3 separate regions of the Homo sapiens genome follow, and regions 1 and 3 are each linked to region 2. The links are contacts of gene promoters, found by promoter capture Hi-C in human tissues and cell types (Jung and others, 2019). All regions are on one chromosome and are shown on one strand. The core of a region is centred on a gene start or on the middle of the fragment in contact, and the rest is flanking DNA. Distances in the headings are between cores, read along the strand shown. Region 1 holds the start of HPGD (15-hydroxyprostaglandin dehydrogenase). Region 2 holds the start of SAP30 (Sin3A associated protein 30). Region 3 overlaps HPGD (15-hydroxyprostaglandin dehydrogenase).

Evidence for each region. Contacts are between HindIII fragments. The study calls those that stand out against the background at their distance.
Region 1: a contact is called between the fragment with the promoter of HPGD here and the fragment with the promoter of SAP30 in region 2, in 1 of the 25 tissues and cell types used here (mesenchymal stem cells).
Region 3: a contact is called between a fragment that was not itself captured here and the fragment with the promoter of SAP30 in region 2, in 1 of the 25 tissues and cell types used here (mesendoderm cells).

What each region holds. Positions count from the first base shown.
Region 1 is chr4:174,521,238-174,523,737 of GRCh38, forward strand. HPGD (15-hydroxyprostaglandin dehydrogenase) reads right to left here and starts at 1,251. Exons shown (of 7, transcript NM_000860.6): 1 at 1,122-1,251; 2 at 707-830. The coding sequence starts at 1,214. LOC105377548 (a long non-coding RNA gene) reads left to right here and starts at 1,376. Exons shown (of 7, transcript XR_007058492.1): 1 at 1,376-1,892; 2 at 2,148-2,184. The HindIII fragment of the contact is 5,489 bases long and covers 1-2,500 here.
Region 2 is chr4:173,369,647-173,372,346 of GRCh38, forward strand. SAP30 (Sin3A associated protein 30) reads left to right here and starts at 1,308. Exons shown (of 4, transcript NM_003864.4): 1 at 1,308-1,851. The coding sequence starts at 1,537. It overlaps SAP30-DT (SAP30 divergent transcript), which reads right to left and starts at 1,052. Exons shown (of 4, transcript NR_183973.1): 1 at 646-1,052. RefSeq lists enhancers at 529-768, 1,852-2,415, 2,119-2,418 and silencers at 1,169-1,338, 1,619-1,998. The HindIII fragment of the contact is 15,433 bases long and covers 1-2,700 here.
Region 3 is chr4:174,492,044-174,494,743 of GRCh38, forward strand. HPGD (15-hydroxyprostaglandin dehydrogenase) reads right to left here. Exons shown (of 7, transcript NM_000860.6): 6 at 1,108-1,271; 7 at 1-51. Among named protein-coding and RNA genes, the nearest start is that of HPGD, 29 kb to the right of the region's middle. The HindIII fragment of the contact is 3,010 bases long and covers 1-2,700 here.

The DNA.
Region 1 (2,500 bases), core at 1-2,500, 1.2 Mb after region 2:
AACAGCTTTATAATCAAAGCTGTTTATTGTGTATGCCAATATTGTCCCTGATACTTCACAAGTAGATTGGTCTATTTTAAGTGAGTAGCCGGAAACAGGAAAGCATTGAGGAAAGGCTGATAGAGATGTTTCTACTACAATTCTAACATTGTATACTTTATTATGATTACTATTATTATTATTTTAAAGTACTGTCTCATTGGGGAAAAAGCCGGAGAAAACATATGGTCAAAAGCATCTAGCACTTCTGTGATGATGCTCCTTGAACTTGTATTCTGATATGTTTAAACGAAAAACACTGCCACATTTGATTGTCATTGGACTCCAGCTTTCTGGGAGAAGTTGTTTGTCAACAGTACCTTACTTAACCTACTTTAATTTTCCAAGTTTTGTCTGCAATTTCAATCATTTAATAATTACTGCAGCAGCACTGTCTTTGAATACATAAAGGAATTTTGATTACATTAATGCTGCCAAATGACTACAATAAAAGGATTTCTCCAGCAGTCTTGCCTTTCTTTCGGTTTTACAGCTATTGGGCTGTCAGAAGGAAACGTATCAGTCCAAACTGTCTTTTGGAGCTTCAAGGTAGCTGCTCTCGAGGAGGCAGCGGAGGCGGCACCCAGGGCCCCCTGGCCGGGCTGCCTTCAGGTTGTTGCTTGTTGAGAGCACGTTCCCAGTTGACAGATTGATTCCCCTGTCTTACCTCTCAGTTGTTGCTGGTCAGCCACATCGCACTGGATGAACAGAGTCTTCTGAGGTTCAAACTGCTCATCCAGGGCAGCTTTACACTGTACACCTGCTTCAAGATTCCAATCCACCAGCGCTACCTATAGACAAGAGGAGAGGAATCGCGGGCCTGCGCAGCTCACGAAATAGACGGACAAACAATAAACACACAAGAGGCTCCCCTCCTGGACCTGAAATTTGGCAATTAGGTTTGGGTTCCCTCCCAGCCACTTCTGAGGTGTGCTCACAGCCTCAGCTTCAGCAAATTTTGGAAGTGGCAAAGTGGGCACGCCGGGCGCGGCCTCCCTGTCTCCGCCAGTGCACCTCGGGCGGCGGGGCGAGTCTCGGAGTGTGTGGGCAGAGAAATTTCCGCGGCTGGGCGCCGGGCTTACCTTGGCGCCCTTAAGCAGCAGCGCCTCTGCAAAGGCTCTGCCTATGCCCTGAGCCGCGCCGGTCACCAGCGCCACTTTGCCGTTCACGTGCATGGTGCAGCCACTGCTGGGGCGGGCGGTGGGCGAGCTCCGCGTCTCCGCGCGGCCGCGGCTTTTATGCCCCCCTGCGCGCGCGCGCGTGCAGCCCGGCGGGGCGCTCCCCTGCCAGTGGGCGGGGAGGAAACTGTCAAGCCAGCGCCCGCCGGGGAACCCACGACTGTGTCACCTGCCCCCTGAGCGTTCTGGAGCGCCAAGCTTCGCGATCTTTGCCTTCCGGACTCGCAGACCGGCTCAAAGCCTCCCCTCAGCCTCTGGCTCCGTGATTGGCAGGCAGCTGACAGAAGAAAAGTTAAAAGGTTATTTCTGAAGAAGAGTTTCCTTCAGTGCCCTAAAGACCAACTGGATAGAAGGAGAGCGGAGCAGAGGCTTGGAAGCTTGGATCCCTCCTCCTGCACTCCCTCCCGGCCCCGACTCCGGAACAAAACAAGCAAACAATAAAGCAAACTTGTTGCTCTTTTGTCTCAAAGTTTTGTGTGAGTTCCCATCTCGTAATCAGTGGGGTTGAGGGTGACGGGGAGCAGAAGTAACTAATATCATTGTGTTTTCTTAGTTACATTTTGGACAAATTTTTACGGATACTGGAGATGAGAAGTGGACTCTGCTCTGTCCTGAAAACCTGGAATCATAACATTTCATGGCTAGGACTAGAGTGTCCTTGGCGCTGTGTTTCTGGTCAGTGTCAATTGTGTGTCATATTGAGATGCCCCCACAAAAACTGTCATCATCAACAGGCGCTCCAGAGCCGCTGGTAGCCTACCAAATTGTTGGCTCAATGGAATGCTTACTTGTTGAAATACACCAACTTTGGAAGCTCTGAGTCAAGTTTGGGACAGAGGTTCCTTGCTCTCCAGGAACTCCAGGGCTAGCTGTATGCGGACTTGCATAAATAACAAGGGCTATTCCACTGACTTTGTCTCTTTTTCTCAGGTTGTCAGCGGCAGGCTGCAATTTTAATTCTGTAAACGTAAGTGGTTGGCTTTTTTTTTTTTTTTTTTTTTTTAATCTTGAGACAAGATCTCGCTCTGTCTGTTTGGCTAGAATGCAGTGGCATAATCCCAGCTCGCTGCAACCTCAATCTCCAGGGCTCAAGCGACCCTCCCACCTTGGACTCCCAAAGAGTGCTAAGATTACAGGCATGAGCCACTATGCCCAGCTGGCATTTATTTTCTTAAAGAAAAAAAAAATCTAAATACTTGGGGGAAATGGGAGTTGAGCAAAAGACTGACACTAACAGCAGAATGAATCATTTTTATATCTTCTTTACCTTCTTTACTGGGAAA
Region 2 (2,700 bases), core at 58-2,557:
TTTACTCACCAAAAGAACTTGCAAAAAAAAAACCCAAAACCCTACTGCCTAAAATATATTTTAAAACGTATTTGTGTTTAAGCAGCATATATCTTTTGATAAATAATGACGCATGGTAGCTAACTAGTAAAGATGCAGCTTTCATATTAGCCACGCCCATCCCTCTCTCCGCCCTCCACAAGCACGTCCCCGCAAGCGCGCAGGAACATACACGCGTACGCGCGCACACACACGTACACACGCGCGCGCCCGCGAACACATACATACAAGCAGGCGCGCCCAAACGCCGGCAGCACACAGGCGCGCACGCGCTTTTCAGGACTCAGGAAATGCGCTTTCTGCTCCCCGCGCCCGGTAGAGCTAATGCAGGGAAGTTTCTGGGAACATTCGACCAGCGTTTGTATTGGTGAGGTTCCAAGTTTCCTTTAAAATGATATGACTCCGCCCTTCTCCAAAACCGTTTGAGGAGAAATGGAAAAGGTTGGGCGTGGAGGTGAAAAGGAGCCCTGTTGTCAACTGGTCCGTACTCCACCTCAGGAGGCGGCCAACTTGGTGCGCCCAAGAATAAAAACATTTCCCTTGTAAGAACATGCAAGTGTTTAGAAACGCCCCCCCACCCCCCCGCAAGGCGTTTGTGAGGGGGACCTGTCACAGTTGAGAAGTCAGGATGGGCGTTTTCCTCCCAGGAGGTGCCCTATTAATTTGCGGCCTCGATAGTTGGTCAAGCCGGGATGTTAGCTGCGGAACCTCCAGGACCGAAGAGCGCCAATTCTCCTGAGTTCTCCTTGGTTTGGGTTTCCCACAAAAGAGTGGTCACACCAAAAACTCTGTCTCCACAAATGCGAAACGGGCTCGAAACTTTTTTTTCCCCACACGATCACTTCCCACACCACTCCCATCCCTTTATGTTTCGCCTCAGGAGTCGAGGAACTTCTCTGAAAACCAATTCTACGATATTCCAGCAGCTAAACACAGCCCGAATTCCCTAGAAACAGAGAGAGCGAGAGAAAACACTGTAAACCCCAATCACACGCTCCTGTTTTCCCGGTACTGAAAAAAAAAAAAAAAAAAAAAAGTGGGTCCGTGGCCGCGCTATGCATGCTAGGATTAGTAGTTCCTCCGTCCCTCATGGCGCGGGGTCAGGGCGGAGCTCAGGTTGACTCTGCAGCAGAGAACTACAATTCCCATGGGGCCGCGCGGCAGAAAGAAAGGGGCGGGACGGGAGGGGGCGCGTCGCGCTTGCGCAGGTCCCGGGGCCGGAGGGAGGCGGAGGCGTAGCGGTCCAACTGCTGAAGTCCCCATGTGACAGTGAGCGGGGTCCCCGCTCCAGGAGACGCTCGAGTCTGCGTCCCGGCCCTCAGCACTGTCCACTGTTTCGGTGCCAGCAGAGACCAGCAGGCCCGGGACAGTTGGTGTTTGGCCGTGCCGCTGTCTAACTTGGTGTGCAGAGTGAATTGCCGCTGCCGGAGCGGAGAGAGGCGGAGCGGCCAGGAGAGAGGGGATTTCTGTCAGCGCCGGCCTCGGGAGCTCGGAGACATGAACGGCTTCACGCCTGACGAGATGAGCCGCGGCGGGGATGCGGCCGCCGCAGTGGCCGCAGTGGTCGCTGCCGCGGCCGCCGCCGCCTCGGCGGGGAACGGGACCGGCGCGGGCACCGGGGCTGAGGTGCCGGGCGCGGGGGCGGTCTCAGCGGCTGGGCCCCCGGGGGCGGCCGGGCCGGGCCCCGGGCAACTGTGCTGCCTGCGGGAGGATGGTGAGCGGTGCGGCCGGGCGGCAGGCAACGCCAGCTTCAGCAAGAGGATCCAGAAGAGCATCTCCCAGAAGAAGGTGAAGATCGAGCTGGATAAGAGCGTAAGTAAACCGCGGGACCGCCCTGCCCTCCCGCCCCTCGGTGGGGCCCCAGGAGCCGGGCAAAGGCACGGGTTGTCGGCGGGGTCCCCCAGACAACCGCACTGGCTGCAGTGCGGTCTCGTGGAGTCTGTGTTTGGAAGCAAATAACAAAGTCGCTGCAACTCCTACCGCCACCCCAACACACACACCACACACAGGCTGTCGTTCCCCTCTTCTTTCCCACCCTGGCCCCCAACCTCCCGCTGCCTGCGTCTCTCCCGCGCAGTCTTCCCTCTTCCTTCTCCTCTGCGACCGGGACACGAAACAAAGGGGACCGGCGCACTGAGGGCCCAGAGTAGTTTTCTTGCAGCCCGGCAGCTCTTCTGGAATGGAGGCGCCTTTGTTTTGCTGCCCAAGCTGGTGTTTGGCCCCAGGCGGTACTAAATCCCGTCGTCTAGGAGAAAGCGGAGGACCTTCACGAACAAGGAAGATCCTGTTCTTTTCTGTGTTCCGTCTCCTCCGGAGCGGAGTGAGAGGGAAGCCGAGCTCACCCGCCGCCTGGCAGTGAGCCGGGGTTGTAAACGGCGTTTGCGCTGTCAGCTCCGAGGGCAGCTACTCCGATGGTGGGGAGCACGTAGCCTCTGCGGTTTTGCCATCCCCTTGGCAGCCATCAGGATTTTTTGCACGTCTTTTCGTTTGACCATCTATGAGGTTTTTAGAAACAGCCGTTGCTACTTTTGGGAGATCTGGCTAGCGGTAAATGAATAACATGGTATCGAGAACCTACCACAAGTCCTGCATATTTTTATCTTGCGCTTGGCTTAGAAGTAAATGTAAAAGCCTGTTAGCTCAGTCCGTGTTTGTTTCAAA
Region 3 (2,700 bases), core at 1-2,500, 1.1 Mb after region 2:
AAAGCATCATCTTCAATGAGTGTTATCAATCCATTGGCAATCAATGGTGGGCTAAAAATAAAGAAAACAGTATTTTGAAACGAAAGAATGAGGCATATTACCACTTCATTTTAAGTTATTTTCTGAAGAATCTATTAAGTTGAACATGTTATAGGGAAATGTGTGTCATTAAACTATTGCTACTTCCAATTTTTATTTAATTCCATATTAGATATCTAGATTAGATATCTTATTTATCTAATTTATTCAATTAGATTTCTTTCAATTGGATATTAACTAAATTATTTGATAAATTTAGCTGTAACCTTCCATCATTTTGGCAGGAGGAATTTATACTCATTATTTTCACTGAGCAAATGATCATTTTCTCATCTTTATCGTATCAGTAGATCTTAGACTTACCAGATATAGATGTTATTAGTGTAGAAATATGATTGGTAACAGCTAGCATTTACTGAAAATTTTATTTTTTACCAGTTACCATTTTAAGTACCTTGTATGTATCATTTTATTTAAGTTTTTCAAAGTCCCTAAGTCTGTTGTATTATCTCTATTTTATATGTGAGAAAATTGAAGCATCTAGAGGTATGATGGGTAAGTTCATGGTTAGTGGTAGAGCCAAGATTTGATCTCAGGTCTGATTCCTTCAACATGATAACTATGATTCATGAAATCCTCAGTTGCTTGAATTCAGACATAATTCACTGAGAAAGTATGTGTCCATGTATGTGTGTGTATCAACTATTTCTTATAAAAGTGGTTGAAGTCATGGAAACTTGCAATATTTCACAGACTATATTTGAATATTGCTTGGAATTTAGGCAGAGAAGGTATCATTGCCTTCAAAGGTGACTAAATATCAACTTTATGACTGATGGTAGTAATGAAGCATTTTACATATTTCAAAGTAACATTCATAATGTATAAACTTACATTCTATTTATAAACCCAGAAAAATATATTTTCTCCCAGAGAGTTTGCCAAACCAAAAGTTTGAAGCTTGTGTTCATTTCTCAACTGTATAAGCTTATTTCTTCCCTTTTTATAGCTTATCTAAATAATGCTTTGCTTCATCATTTAAAAGAAAATAGACATAGTTTTACTTACTCCAAAATTCCATAGTATTTAATCATATCCTTGATATGATCCTTATATTCTATATATTGTCCCATGTTTTCTTCTTTTTCAATTGATTCAAGGATGGCTGTGTTAACAAAGCCTGGACAAATGGCATTCAGTCTCACACCACTGTTCATAAGATTAGCAGCCAACTGCCAATTAGAAGGTTGTAGGTTTCAGCAGTTTCATAAACATATAGCACAGGACAAACTGATCATTAAAGCATCTTACAATTTTCTGATGTAAAAAATACTAATTAGATATCCTCCCAGCTATGTAACAATGACTGGTAAATAGATAGTAAAATAACACATACATAAAGTATTGTATTAATTCCTGAAAATCTCACCTAATTAATTTTTTTTAAAAATCAGTATTACTGGACAACTCCTGGAAACAATTATGTAAGCTTCTCTTATCTACTGAACTCTGCAGGAGCCTGAAGCTAAGTAGCTGAGACTTAGAATCGATATCCCAAGTGTTATTTCAAATATGGTGGTTGTATAACAAATAATACTTAATTAAAAAGACTTTTAGTGAAAATGTTTAGAACTTTGATTCTAAAGACACTCTTAATAATCTGTCCTATCTGGAAGACAATTTAAGTATTTTCAGACTAACATTATTTGGCTTAATTTACAAACTATTGATTTTATTTGCAATTATTAAAAAATTAGTCAATTCTCATTATTCATGGATTACATATAAACAAATTTGTTAAATTTGCTTGCTAAAATTTACTTGTAACCCTGGAAATCAATACTTGTGGAGCATTTGTAGTTATTTGTGGACATGCACAGGGCAGTGAGAAATTTGAGTCACCGATGTGCATGTTCCTGCTGAGGTCAAGTAAGACTATACTCTGTCGTGCCATGTTTTTCTAATTTTGTGCTTTTTTATTGGTGATTCTGCTGTTTAAAATGGCTGCCAAACCCACTGCAGAAGTGCTGTGTAGTGTTCCTTAGTGTAAGAAGACTGATGTCCTGTACAGAAAATATTTGTGTTAGATAAATTTTGATCAGGCATGAGTAATAAGTGCTTTAGTAATGAGTTCAATGTTCATACAACCTATGATAAATAAGGTTCTTTAAACAGGAATACACATAAAATAAGGTTATGTATTGACTGGTTGATTGGAGTTTTGTGACCAGAGGCTTTCAGGAACTTAACCCTCTATTTCCCCTAAAAGCAATGGTTCAGTAGTCACTAATGTAGTGTTTGTAAGTGACTTCATGGAACATAACCACCATGCATACTGAGAATTGACTGTAGAAGTTTCCAGTCTTGTAATTTTAAATATAAAATTTCTGGTCTTTCAGGTTTACTTTGCTTTGTAAGAGAGCTTTATGTGTTTATAAGAAGTCTGTCTGAAGATTATGTCTTTGCAAATTAAGCAATAATTTCCAATCAATTTAAGAGTGTGAGAACTACTTATCTTCCATTTTGACTGAACAGTTAACATTTGTGCATCTGTTTTTTCTGTCTCCTACTAATTCTTTGATTACTAATATTTTTCTCTTCATCTCTCTAGCTGCTCTCTTTGTCTCACCTAGATGAACCACCCAGAGACCCCCTACAACT